Linked DNA regions of Homo sapiens: regions 2 and 3 are each linked to region 1. Evidence: promoter capture Hi-C in 16 types of primary human blood cells and fetal thymus (Javierre and others, 2016). All regions are on one chromosome and are shown on one strand. The core of a region is centred on a gene start or on the middle of the fragment in contact, and the rest is flanking DNA. Distances in the headings are between cores, read along the strand shown. Region 1 holds the start of CSRP1 (cysteine and glycine rich protein 1). Region 2 overlaps NAV1 (neuron navigator 1). Region 3 overlaps NAV1 (neuron navigator 1).

The links. The method cuts DNA at HindIII sites, captures the fragments that hold promoters and counts their contacts. A CHiCAGO score of 5 or more calls a contact.
Region 2: a contact is called between a fragment that was not itself captured here and the fragment with the promoter of CSRP1 in region 1, in 2 of 17 cell types (monocytes and megakaryocytes). The highest score is 7.7, in monocytes.
Region 3: a contact is called between a fragment that was not itself captured here and the fragment with the promoter of CSRP1 in region 1, in 1 of 17 cell types (megakaryocytes). The highest score is 5.2, in megakaryocytes.

Annotation. Positions count from the first base shown.
Region 1 is chr1:201,505,011-201,509,104 of GRCh38, reverse strand. CSRP1 (cysteine and glycine rich protein 1) reads left to right here and starts at 1,982. Exons shown (of 6, transcript NM_004078.3): 1 at 1,982-2,035. It overlaps CSRP1-AS1 (CSRP1 antisense RNA 1), which reads right to left and starts at 1,892. Exons shown (of 2, transcript NR_160747.1): 1 at 1,686-1,892. RefSeq lists a silencer at 1,651-2,280. The HindIII fragment of the contact is 16,293 bases long and covers 1-4,094 here.
Region 2 is chr1:201,715,606-201,719,699 of GRCh38, reverse strand. It overlaps NAV1 (neuron navigator 1), which reads right to left. Exons shown (of 34, transcript NM_001389617.1): 7 at 945-1,310. The region is part of intron 2 of IPO9-AS1 (IPO9 antisense RNA 1); the gene reads left to right. It overlaps MIR5191 (microRNA 5191), which reads right to left and starts at 192; the gene lies at 73-192. RefSeq lists an enhancer at 1-76. The HindIII fragment of the contact is 283 bases long and covers 1,644-1,926 here.
Region 3 is chr1:201,674,370-201,678,463 of GRCh38, reverse strand. The region is part of intron 5 of NAV1 (neuron navigator 1); the gene reads right to left. Among named protein-coding and RNA genes, the nearest start is that of MIR5191, 43 kb to the left of the region's middle. The HindIII fragment of the contact is 211 bases long and covers 2,192-2,402 here.

The DNA.
Region 1 (4,094 bases), core at 733-3,232:
TACTATCCAAAGCATTCTGGTTTAGATGACACATTGTACAGCCATTCTGTTTATAAGGTGCTTTAAGATCTGGGAGAAATCCAAGTGTGACTGCAGTGACTGCTCTTCTTTTTCTGGATCTACCCTAAAGCCATTTCACAGCACAGGTTGGCATGTCCTCACAGGGAAATCTATCAACAGTCCCATGACTCCAGAGAGGACAAACCCAGACCAAAGAAGGTAATGTAGGAGTTTGCCCTTTTGTAAAATCCTGGGCAAAACTCCGAGGCTCATCTCTCCAAGATACTGAGAATTGAAAGGAGAGGGGGAAATCCCATGGGATCGCCATCTTTGGGCGGAAGCCCTTGGTCTCTGACACTGATGGTGGTTCTGCAGTTTAATGGACCTGTTTAACTATTGCTTAGTCAGTGCAGCCGTGACCAGAAATTCTTCTGGTTTCTCCTCCTTCATCTTGGTTGGGTCAGATGAAGATGGCCCAATCTGCAAGAAACACTGGTTGTGTGCTTCTAGACATTTTAATCTTGGAGGGCCTTGTTTATAGGATGGACCTGGCCAAAGGAAAGATGTTACTTATGGTAGAAAGCAAGAAAAACCTAGATAAACACTTTTTTTTTTGAGAAACACTCTTGCTCTGTCGCCCAGGCTGGAGTGCAGTGGTGCAATCTTGGCTCACTGCAACCTCTGCCTCCTGAGTTCAAGTGATCCTTCCACCTCAGCCTCTCGAGTAGCTTGGATTACAGGCACACACCACCACGCCTGGCTAATTTTTTTAATTTTTTTGTAGAAACAGGGTTTCACCAGGTCTCGAACTCCTGGGTTTAAGCAATCTGCCTGCCTCGGCCTCCCAAAGTGTTGGGATTACAGGCGTGAGCCACAGTGCCTGGCCAAATACTTCATTTTCTAGATCATAAGATGCTTAACTTTATTCCTGGCAAAAAGTTGATTCAGCAAACCAGGGCTTTAAGTGAAGCCGGTTGGGGCCTGAACCCTTGACACCTGCCCAGGGTGGAAGACATAGCAGCTGCATCTATGGGCCACCTGGGGTGTAGGGTGACCAGCTGGAGGCTGTGAGCTTCTCTGCTCCCTGAAATGCCTGCACGGGGCACTCAGGAAGGGCTGGGGACTGGGTGAGGAGGTGTGGACAGAATGTCCCCTGGAAACTGCCCCAGGGGCAGCTTGAGTGGCCTGAGCCTGTGTCTGTCCTACTGAAGGTTGGAGCCCCAGAGAAAAGCCTCTATGGAGGCACCCACTTTTCAGAACTGCTGCTTTTGCGGGAGAACACCTTTTTCCAGGTGTTGTCCTTAGGGTAGCAGGGAAGACTGGGAAAAACTGAGGGGCAAGAGCTGTTGGAGGGGGGAGTTACATTTATTGAGTGTCTATTACATGCCGGGTGCTGCTGAAGGTCTGCGGGTCCTACCGGATCTCCTTTTAGCCCCTCACATCCCTGTAGATTACACGCCGTTCACAGATGACCCTGAACCCAGAAGGGCTGTCTAGGCCCAGGGCCCAGCTAGTGAGTGGATGGGCAGAATCAGACCTGCCCTGGAAGGGTCTGTCTTACCCTGGCGCCCAAAATGTGTCCCTCACCCTCTGCCACCAGGACAAGTAAATTCGAGACACCCTTTCGTTAGGGGCTCAAGTTTATCATGGGTCTGACCTCTAAGGTCATATCTCCGCCTTCTCACCTGACAGACAGGAAACTCCTGAAATGCCCCTCGCACGTGCAAGACGTTTTCCGCGGTGGCGGCGACAGGGCGCACAGTGGGACCGCAGCACGAGCTCGGAGCACCCCCAGAGTCGGCGACTCCTGCCCCCGCCCCTGCCGGCCGGCCTTCCCGGGGCCTAGGAGGGCAGCACCGCCGGGCTTCGCGCCATGACATCAGCCCTGGAGTGGTGCAGTGTGCAAAGCCCACTGGTTGGCGTGGCCCGGGACACGCCTTCCGCGGAGCGGAACAAAACGGCGCGCAGGCCGGGCGCACCCAGCCGCCACTTCCGAGAGCGCCTGCCGCCCCTGCGCCGCCGAGCCAGCTGCCAGGTGAGTGCGCCCTGAGTCGCGCGGCTCTGCCCGCCGCGGAGGGGCGCCTGGGCACGCACTCAGCGCCTCCCGGTCTTGCCAGCCCCGCCGCAGCCCCGGGGCTGTCGCAGGCGGGGAACTGTGAGAAGTGACCGCAGTTAGCCCGGGCAGTGCTGCTCTTTTCTGGAGGCACTAGGTCCGTCCCCATCCCGGGCCTTCCTGGGCTTCCTGGACACAGTTGACTTCCGCGTGTGCGTGACCCAGGGCGACCCGGCTCCCCGCAACCGCCTGCAAGTCGGGCAGAACAATCGGCGATTCTGCGCGCCACTGACGCTCATTGTATGGCAGAGAGATGAGGGCATCCGTGCCACCCCCTCCCTCACCCTCCTGCTGGGGAGAAAATGCCCGCGGGCGGGGTGGGGCAAACATCTGGGCCTGACCTTGGACATCTGTGTCCCTGAGCGCAGGTGTGAGTTTTCCCTCTTGTGAAATAACTGCATGGAAACCTCTCCACTCCAAATCTTGGTGCTAGGTGGTGATGGTTACTGAAACCTGAAAGAGCCTGCAGTCAGTGTTTTGTGGCCTCAGTCCTTGAAAGCTGGGAAGTGATAAAGGGGCTGGTATTGAGCACATTTAAAGCAAATCACAATGTGTTAGCTAACAATCAGCCCTCTGAGGCAGGTATTGTATCTACTGGTACAGACTAGAGAATATTTTGCATGCTTCTGGTTCTGGTGCTGTTGTGAACTAACCAGGACCCAGGAATCGGCTGGAGCAATAGTGGGCTCAGGCTCTGCCTAGAGCCCTGGGCTCCAGCCACCCACCAGCTGCTCCCTGAGAGTGAATGAATGGGCAGGCTCTCCCCACGCTGGGATACTATCACAGTGGCACCGAGGAAATCCACTGGGCCCTGGTAGAAAGTATATCAGTATATCATGAAGAGGTGGCTTGGAGTCTTGGTGGGATTGTTTGGAAGGCAGAGTTTTGACTCTTGGATTTGCCACTTAACGCGCAGGTTTCCTTGGACAAACTATTTAACTTCTCAATGTCTCAGTTTCTTTCAGGGATGCTACTTGGGGAGCATATTACACAGAACCTCCAACACAGGAGTGATCTCTCAGTTACTGTCTTTCTTGTCCTCCCCTCATCCCTTGCCTTCCTCCCAGAAGCTAAGGAGGCTGGAGGTGCTGGTTGTCTCCCTCTGTCCTCTCAGACTGCATGTTGGGGATTTTCCCCAGGTGGGATTTGGGGATGGGTACTGAGCCTCCCCTCAACTGCTCTCACTCAACTGCTGCCTCCTGACTCTCCAGCTGGTTTCTGGCTACCTCTTTTGAGAGAGACTGTCCTCAGCCCTCAGCTGCTGGAGGGCAGCTTTTACCCATTGTTTCCTAAATCCAGCCTCCTCCTGCTCACGGTCTTCCAGTGAATGACTCTTTGCCTTGGAGAGGATATCCGGGGCGGAGGCAGTCAGACGAGGAAGGAAGTTTATCCTGCAGAGGGTGTAGTGTGGGTTAGAGGAGAGGGAGGAGAGAACTGTCTGCAAGGCCTGAGATGCCCAGGATGGAGGGTATGGGGAAGAAGAAGCAGGAGAGAAACTAAAGAGAAGGCCCATCAACTCTGCAATTGGCCTGCTAATAAAATGGGAAAAACAGGGGTGCTGTGGCCTATTTGCCTGTGGTCTGTCTTAGCACCTGCCTTCCTGGCCCAGGTGTTTGCTCTTTTAATTGCACACATGTGCATCTGCCTCTGGAGCTAGTGAGTCCTGACTGGGCCAGAGTTGCAGCCTGGGAGTGTAGTGACACTTGACTGAGTGATCAGCAAACATTTGATGAATGAGTGGGGTAGCAATGGTCTTTCAGCTGAGTTGGCCTACGGGATACTCATAAACCTTGCAAATAGTTACTAGCCAGTTTTTCCACTTGGGTAGATTGACAAGCAGGTGAGAGAAAAAAGGCGTAGGTTTTTTTTGGGCTTTTTTGTGTGTTTTTGTTTTGAGGCAGTCTTGCTCTGTCACCCAGGCTGGAGTGCAATGGCGTGACATTGGCTCACTGCAACCTCTGCCTCCTGGGTTCAAGCGATT
Region 2 (4,094 bases), core at 536-3,035, 210 kb before region 1:
GGCAGTAGGCTAAGAGGTGCTCCAGAGAAGCTTCCAGAACCACTGCCTCTCTCCTGTCTCTGGGCTTGGAAGAGTTGGCCAGGATCCCCCTAAGCGCCCAGCACTTCATTCTTCCTATCCTCTCTTCTATCCTCCCAGACCAGGAGAGGACAGCAAGAATGAAGTGCTGGGGGCTTGGGGTCCTGGCCAACTCTTCCAAGGTTGGAAGGCATAGGCACAACTCTGTCAATTAAGGCAGAAAAATATAAGAAGATGAGGGTCCCTGCAGGGCAAAAGGCAGGAAAGAAGGATTTGACACGCTGGGTAGGGATTAGGAAGTTGCATGATTGGTAGAAGGTTTGCACAGGAAGAAACCCAAGGAGCAGACACTGAGGACCACAGGGGTCGGATAGGGAACTGAGGGGTTACGAACCCCTGGCAAAGGAAGTGGAGCTACTGCTGCTACTCACTGTTTGACTAGCGATTTCACCCACAAGCTCTCATTTTCTCTTCTTAGGTAGACAGATACGATGTTAATAACCTTTTTGGTTTTTTTTTTTTTTGCAAATGGGAAAGCAGATTTAGTTGTCCAGGGTCTACACAGAGTTCGCATAAGAGCTGGGAATAAAATGCTTTTCCAAGGCTCTTTGAGCCAGTTTATTGAGGGCAAAGAGCCAGGGAGGAGGGTGACAGAATGACAGCCACAGAGACCAATGAGAGGGAGGCGCCTTCATTGACCAATCAGCTCCTTGGATGTAGGCCCTGCCTACACCACACCCAAGTCTAGAATAAACCACATCGAATTTCAGAGGCAATCACAAAGTGTACACAGCACACTTTTGTGTACTTTCATAGCAGCACAGCAAACCAAAACCCGTTTTGGGTTCCACTCCACTTTTAAGGCGTCGCATCCCAGTGGTCTTTCCACCATCCTCCCCCGCCATCCAAGAAGCCCCTGCGCTTACCCGGTAGTGATGTCATCATCCTCCGTCATGGTCTTGCCCATGAGGTCACTGTCGCTCATGTAGCCGGACTTGAGGTCCACCTCATCCGAGTCCAGGGATTCGACCAGCTCCAGGCGGGAGATATGGCTGAGCTTGCTGGGGCTGCGCATGGGCATGGTGTGGGAGTAGTGGGCCCGTTCGCCGTGCATGTACCAGGCGGGCGTCCCCTCCGAGCGGCAGCTCCCACCCACAGAGGGCGCGTCACCAGCCTGCAGCCGCGGACTGGACTGGCCATAGCGCCATGACAGAGGGGACGAGCGGTTGGAGAGGCTGGACACGCTGCGTGGGTTGGCATCATCGCTGTCGTAGCAGGTCATCTCCAGGGAGCTGGGTGGAGAGCAGAAGGCACTACTTAGTCCTTGGCACAGCCGCCGTGTGCCCTGTCCCCTCACATGCACCCCAGCAATGCCTCCCCTCCACCCACAGGCCCTGTCACCTCCTCCCCACCTGCCCAAGCTCCACCTCCTCCATGAGGCCTCTGGTTGTGTGTTACCTTTGTGATACGTTATCTGTTTGACAAAGGAAATGATCTTAATTAAGTGGCTAGGGAAGAAATCCTGTATACTGTTAAGACCCTAGATTGTGTAATATGACCTAGGTTTGAATTCTTTTTTGGTATTGGTTAGTAAAGGAGCCCAAGGAAAGTAAATAACTAAAGCTTCAGTTTCCCCATCTGTACAATGGGGATAATGGCATAACATCTACCTTATAGAGTTGTAAGGATCACATATGTACAGACAGAACACAGTGCCTGGTATATGGAAGGGGTCAACAGACCTGGAGGCAAGTGGGAGAGACTGGTCACTTGAGCTTAGAAGGCCTTGGTCATTTTGTTAATGGTGTGTCCATCACCTCTCTTCTAGTAATTAGCTGAGGGCTAGCTGATTCCCAAACATCATATATAGGAAAGCTGAAGTAGAGTGCAGAGAGTATAGGAAAAGCTTTGGGAATCTGGGATGTATGGCAGGTCCCCAGTAAGACTGGTCCAAGCCACAGGCCTAGGGCAGCAGGGGAAATAAGCCTCCCCAGAGAATAGAAGCAGCCTTAACTGGACAAAGGAGAGGACACAGGGAACCAGACATGGGGGTGAAGCCAAATGTCCAGAGTCTCAAGCCTCAGGCCCTGCTAGACCAGGCCAAGGGAGCAATGCCCAGGTGAGTGCTGGATGGCCTGAGACTAGGGGAACCTGGGGGACTAGGGAAGGAGATAGGGCCAGGCGGGCTGCAGAGAGGAAATACAACTGGAATCTGGTTGAAGGGGTGGCTTGGACTTGGGTTCAGGCTGAGACCCATAATTCCATCTAGCCTAGCAGTGGGGCCAGCCCAAATCAGCCTCAGGCAGGGTCTCCATAACTTATCCTAATTAAGCCAGACAGGACTAAGTAAGCGAAACGGGGTTTGGTGGCCAAGAAAGCTGGGGCAACTGAGGCAATCTGTGGCTGGACATGAGTTACATGAGCCCAAGCAATCACTGCTCTGTGAACACATCCATTGCTTAGCCACTTTGGGGGCTGGAATGGGAGTGGGACATTGATTTTTCCATTCTGGTTTCTATCAAGTTCCTTGAAAAGAAGAAAAATTTCCAAAGTTGTCTCTATTGGACCTGAGAAAATACGGTCTTATTTTCTAACCAGCAGAACTTGAGGGATCCAAACGCTCTTGAAACTGAGTGTGCTGGGGTCCTGGCAGTAGTCCTGTGGGCAAGATGGGGGAGGCCCTGGCCAGTCAGGGCAATCAGTGGCAGCTGCTTCTGGCCCTCTGGAGGGCTTCCTGACCGTGTCCATGCCCAGCGGCTCCCCTCCTGGCCCTGCCAACTCTTTTTACTTATTTACTTATTTTTGAGACAGGGTCTCACTCTGTTGCCTAGGCTGGAGTGTAGTGGTGCAAACACGGCTCACTGCAGCCTTGACCTCCCGAGCTCAAGTGACCCTCCTGCCTCAGCCCCAAAGTAGCAGGGACGACAGGCACACATGAGCACATCTGGCTAATTTTTGTATTTTTTATAGAGATGGGGTTTTGCCATGTTGTCCAGGCTGGTCTTGAACTCCTGAACTCAAGCAATCCTCCCACCTCGGCCTCCCACAGTGCTGGGGTTACTGGCGTGAGCCACTGCACCCTGCTTCTGGCAGCCCTTTAGGAACCCCTTTGTGTTCTGCAGCTCTGCCTCATACAGTGTCTTGTTTCGGCTTCTAATTACTGTGGACCTAGACATCACATCTCCTTGGACAGAAACCGATGTGCCCCGAAGCCAGAGACTGTAGTGATGGTGCGACTTTGTCTGCCTTGCTCACTCACCACGGTATTTCAGCACTTTGCATGGCACCTGGCCTAGAGCTGGTGCTCTAGAATGAATCAAAGAGGAGCAAACCCACGATGGATGTGTGAGTAAAAAGCAAGGAAGTTCTCATCAGAAAACTCAGTCCAGCGCCCTGTGCAGTAAGTGCTTGATAAAAGCAAGCTGACCTTGACCATGGGATGAGACAGGGGAGGAAGAGGATGATGCTAACCATACTAAGAGGGTGGCGGGGATCTCCAGGGAAGCTGGTTTGGGTAGTTAGCCTACACCATGGTTATATACTAGTGTGGGAGTGAGGGCTGCACTCAGCATCTGGGTTCCTCAATTCTATTCCTGGCCTGCCCCTGTTTAGTTATTTGTACTAAAATTGCCTCTTCCCCTATTCCACAGCTCTCTCTTTTTTTTTCAGTTCCCCCAAACACATCTCTAGACATCTCTAGACTTAAGCTTGGTGAGGGGGATTCTAGCTCAGATCCTCAGTTCTTGAATTCCAGCCCTGCACCCACCCTTCAGGCTTGCCTTTCTCTGGGGAGGACACAGTTTCATTTCCTCTCCAGCCACAGTCTGACCCAGACTCTCCTCGCTGGGGGAAATGAACCAGTAGAAATTGAGGAAGCAGCACAGGAGTAAAGGCTTCTGAAAAGGAATGGAATCCAGTTATCCTGGGAGTTCCTGGGTGAAAACAGCCTTGCAGGAAGCACACACTGGACCATAAGCTCCGAGGATGAAGCTTGTGTGTGTTCTGGGGAGCCAGTGCCCAGCGCTGTGCCTGGCACACAGCTGGCATGGGTTCTGAGCATGCAGAGTACAGAACCT
Region 3 (4,094 bases), core at 1,048-3,547, 170 kb before region 1:
CACCCTCATCTGTAAAATGGGGACAAGAGCACCTACCTCAAAGAGTTGGAGTAAAGACTGATCAAACTATTACTCATAAAGTGCTTAGTTCAGTTTCTTGCACACAATAAGCACTTGAAACACACCAGCCATTGGAGCGCTATCAGCAGCTTTCAGGAAAGTTCAGAAAGGCTTGCTTTGGCAGCAGCAGCTTACGTTGAGAGGTAGGAGGCCCGGACTTGTGTTCTAGTATTTCCACAAACTCACTGCCAAGTCAGTTCATAACGTAGCTCCCTCATTTACCTTTTGGGGATATTAATATTTGTCCTACCTACTTTATCAGGGTGGTGCGAAAATGCAATCACATTTGGCAGGATACATTTCTGAGATGTTTAATTCATGGTGCCTCCCTCTGTGTAATTCCACTCCCCAGCTCCCATTCTGAGCAGGTCACCAGGTTTCAAAACTCTAAACTTCGGGGACATTGGACAGAATAGGAAGCAGAATGGGGCAGCATGTTTGGTGAAAGCTTCAGGCTATTAGGAAGGTGAGTTTGGCCGGGTATGGTGGGTCACGCCTGTAATCTCAGCACTTTGGGAAGCCGAGGTGGGCAAACTGCTTGAGCTCAGAAGTTTGAGACCAGCCTGGGTGACATGGTGAAACCCCATCTCTACCAAAAAATAAAAAAAATTAGCCAGGCGTGGCGGCGCATGCCTATGTTCCTAGCTACTCACGAAGCTGAGGTGGGAGTGTCGCCCATGCCTGGGAGGCGAAGGTTGCAGTGAGCGGAGATCATGCCACTGCACTTCAGCCTGGGCTGGAGACCCCATCTCAGAAATGAAACAAACAAACAAACAAAAAAGATGGTGAGTTTAGGGGAAGGGAAGAGACCACTTTTGAGAAGCAGAGAGTGGGCAAGGCTCTCCTGAACTAGAAATGAAAAAAGCACCGTGAGTCCCAGGAGCAAGCAGTCAGATGCATTCCCACACCCTGAGGGGGACGGGGTGGGGTAAACAGGAGGAAGGGACATTGGGCAGAGGCTGCTGGCCTTGGCAAAGAAGTCCATGTCCCATGGCACAGAACTGGAGAGGCACTGAGGAAACTTGCAGGGATCACAACATAGTGGTCCTTTCCTGTTTTCCAAGCTTTGCTCAGACCTTCTGGACCTGGGGTGAGCCTGGGGTTGGGGGAAAGGATGCCAGCCGCCAGCAATTCTTTTTTTTTTTTTTTTTTTGAGATGGAGTCTCAATCTGTCGCCCAGGCTGGAGTGCAGTGGCACAGTCTTGGCTCCTGCAACCTCCACCCACCAAGTTCAAGCGATTCTTCTGCCTCAGCCTCCTGGGTAGCTGGGATTACAGGCACGCACCACCATAACCAGATAATGTTTGTATTTTTAATAGAGACAGGGTTTCACCATGTTGGCCAGGCTGGTCTCAAACTCCTGGCCTCAAGTGATCCACCCATCTCAGCCGCCTAAAGTGCTGGGATTACAGGCATGAGCCACCGCGCCCAACCAGACCCCAGTAATTCTGACTTGAAATGTCTTGCCACTCAGGAGGGTAGGGGCTCAGAAGTAGAATTACATTGGTTTAAAGACAATCAAGAATGGGATGTTTGTTGCCTGGCCAAGTTTGTGGGCTGCTATTTAGATCTATTACACACAGATTCCAAAGCTTAAAAAGTATGGAGTGCCAGAAACACAGTATTTGACATGATTATTAATTATCTAATTATTTTGGTATAAAAATGTTTGGCAAGAGGGGAATGGGGAAGGTTCGCCAGGGCCAGAAAGGGCTTGGGCTGCAGCTTCTGAAAGATTGTGTTCACCTTTTAAAAGCAGAGCTGGTTGGGTGTTGCGGGGAGAATGGTGGAGGAGCTACCGGGAACCCCAGCCTGGACCACTGGGGTGAAACTATTTCCTGCGAGTCAGCTCTCCCCAGCCGCTTCCCTCGCTGTGTGGCCTGCTTTGCCTCCCTGAGGCTCCCTGACTCCTCCCCTCCACTGAAGGTCCCAGCACAAGGAAAGGGGACAGAGCTGGGCCTGTGCCTAGGAAGCCGACTCTGTGTCCTCCTCAGCACTTCTGGGCAGCTGCATTTCAGTCTTGGGAAGGAGAAAGGGAGAGAAAGAGTCCCTGAGCCCTGAAACCTGAGCCCAGCCTGGCTGAAATAAGTGCAGCTTTCAGGAAGGAGTCAAACTTTCTCAGGCTAAAGCTTCCTCTTAAAAGCAGAGGGAGTGGCTGCTGGGAGGCCAGGTCTCCAGAGTCCCCAGGGCACTTCCAGGAGGACCTCTCTGCAGGAGGCCAGAGGTCTGTGCCTCAGTAAGGATTCATTAACACCCTATCTCAGAAAGAGGGGCTGGAATTATCTCCTTTTGGTAGGCAATAGGGTAGGAAGCAGAACCGGCCAGCATACTTGGTGAAAGCTTCAGGTGAGTTTAGAGGAAGAGAAGAGATCACTTTTGAGACGCAGAGAGGGGGCAAGACTCTCTTGAACTAGAAGTGAAAAGAGCTTTAGGTACAGGGGAAACTGGGGCTTGGGATGGTGATTTGGGAATAAATAATTCTAATTATGAATGATGATTTATGAGGCCGGCCACTGGGCCAATGAAAAGTTTGCCATTCTTTTCTTCCCTCTTGAGGCTCCCCGTCTGCCATCCAGCTTCAGAAAATGGTTCCAGATAGGCAAACTTCGTTGCCTCAGGAGGCCAGGGTTTAGGGTGGAGTGGAGGGAGAACATGAGTTTAGAGAAGTGAATTTGGACAGAACTGTAGGGGTTGTACCCCTCAAATTCCATCGCTTTGTTTTAAACATCATCCCACTTTCAGGAAAGGTAACTTGGGGAAGAAGATGGAGGGAAAGAGACGATATTTAAATGTGCAAATTCCTCTGGGATGAGTAAAATACAAACACCTTACCAAGTGCCTGGTTCATTTTTTGTTGTAAGTTAATGGTAAGTAATAGTAGTGTTTATGGAGCAGTTCCTTTGAGCAGGCTAAGTGCACTGTCTAAAAGCAGGGACTTTTATCTCTCTACCATGGTGAAGAGGAAGCTGAGGTTACACGAGGCTGGCCAGCCCTGGCCTTGTGACAAGAAGTGCCCGGTCAGAAAGGAGACGATAAGCATGGAGGATCCCGGGGCAGGGATCTCAGGAGCAGGGGACAGGCAGCAGTAGGACATTAACTTTGTGGCTTTTATGGTTTTGTCAAGGAGCAGATTTGGCACTGAAAGATACTGTCAAGCATTCACCAAGGAAATGGAGGACATGTTGGTGTGACATGGTGGTGGACAGATTGGTACCTGGTGTAGTCTGGAGGCCGTTCCCTCTAAATCTCATGTGGAAAGGTCATCCCCAGGTCAGAGGTGGGGCCTGATGGGAAGTGCTTGGGTCATGGGAGTGGATCCCTCATGGCTTGGTGCCATCCTTGCCATAGTGAGTTCTTTTTTTTTTTTTTTTTGAGACAGAGTCTCACTCTGTTGCCCAGGCAGTGACGCGATCTCCGCTCACTGCACCCTCAACCTCCCAGGTTCGGGCAATTCTCCTGCCTCAGTCTCCAGAGTAGGTGGGATTACAGGTGCGCGCCACCACACCCAGCTATGTGTGTGTGTATTTTTAGTAGAGATTGGGTTTCACCATGTTGGCCAGGCTGGTCTCAAACTCCTGGCCTCAAGTGATCTGCCCACCTCGGCCTCCCAGAGTGCTGAGATTACAGGTGTGAGCCACCGTGCCCAGCCAGTTTTCGTGAGATCTGGTTATTTAAAATTGTGTGGCACTTACCCCCACAACTCTCTCTTTTGCTCCCTCTGTCACCATGTGACAAGCCTGCTCCCACTTCACCTTCTGCCATAAGTAAATGCTCCCTGAGGCTCCTTTGAAGGCTGAGCAGATGCCTGCACCATGCTTCCTATACAGCCAGTAGAAACATGAGCCAATTAAACCTCTTTTTTAAATAAATTATCCAGCCTCTGGTATTTCTTTACAGCAACGCAAGAATGGCCTAACATACATGTTTTGCTGGAGGGCCTCCAGGAGGGCTCCTGGTACCAGCAATGACTATTTCTTAGAAGCCCTGGGCTGGGCCCTGGACAACCCCCCCCAACACACACTCATTCCAGGAGG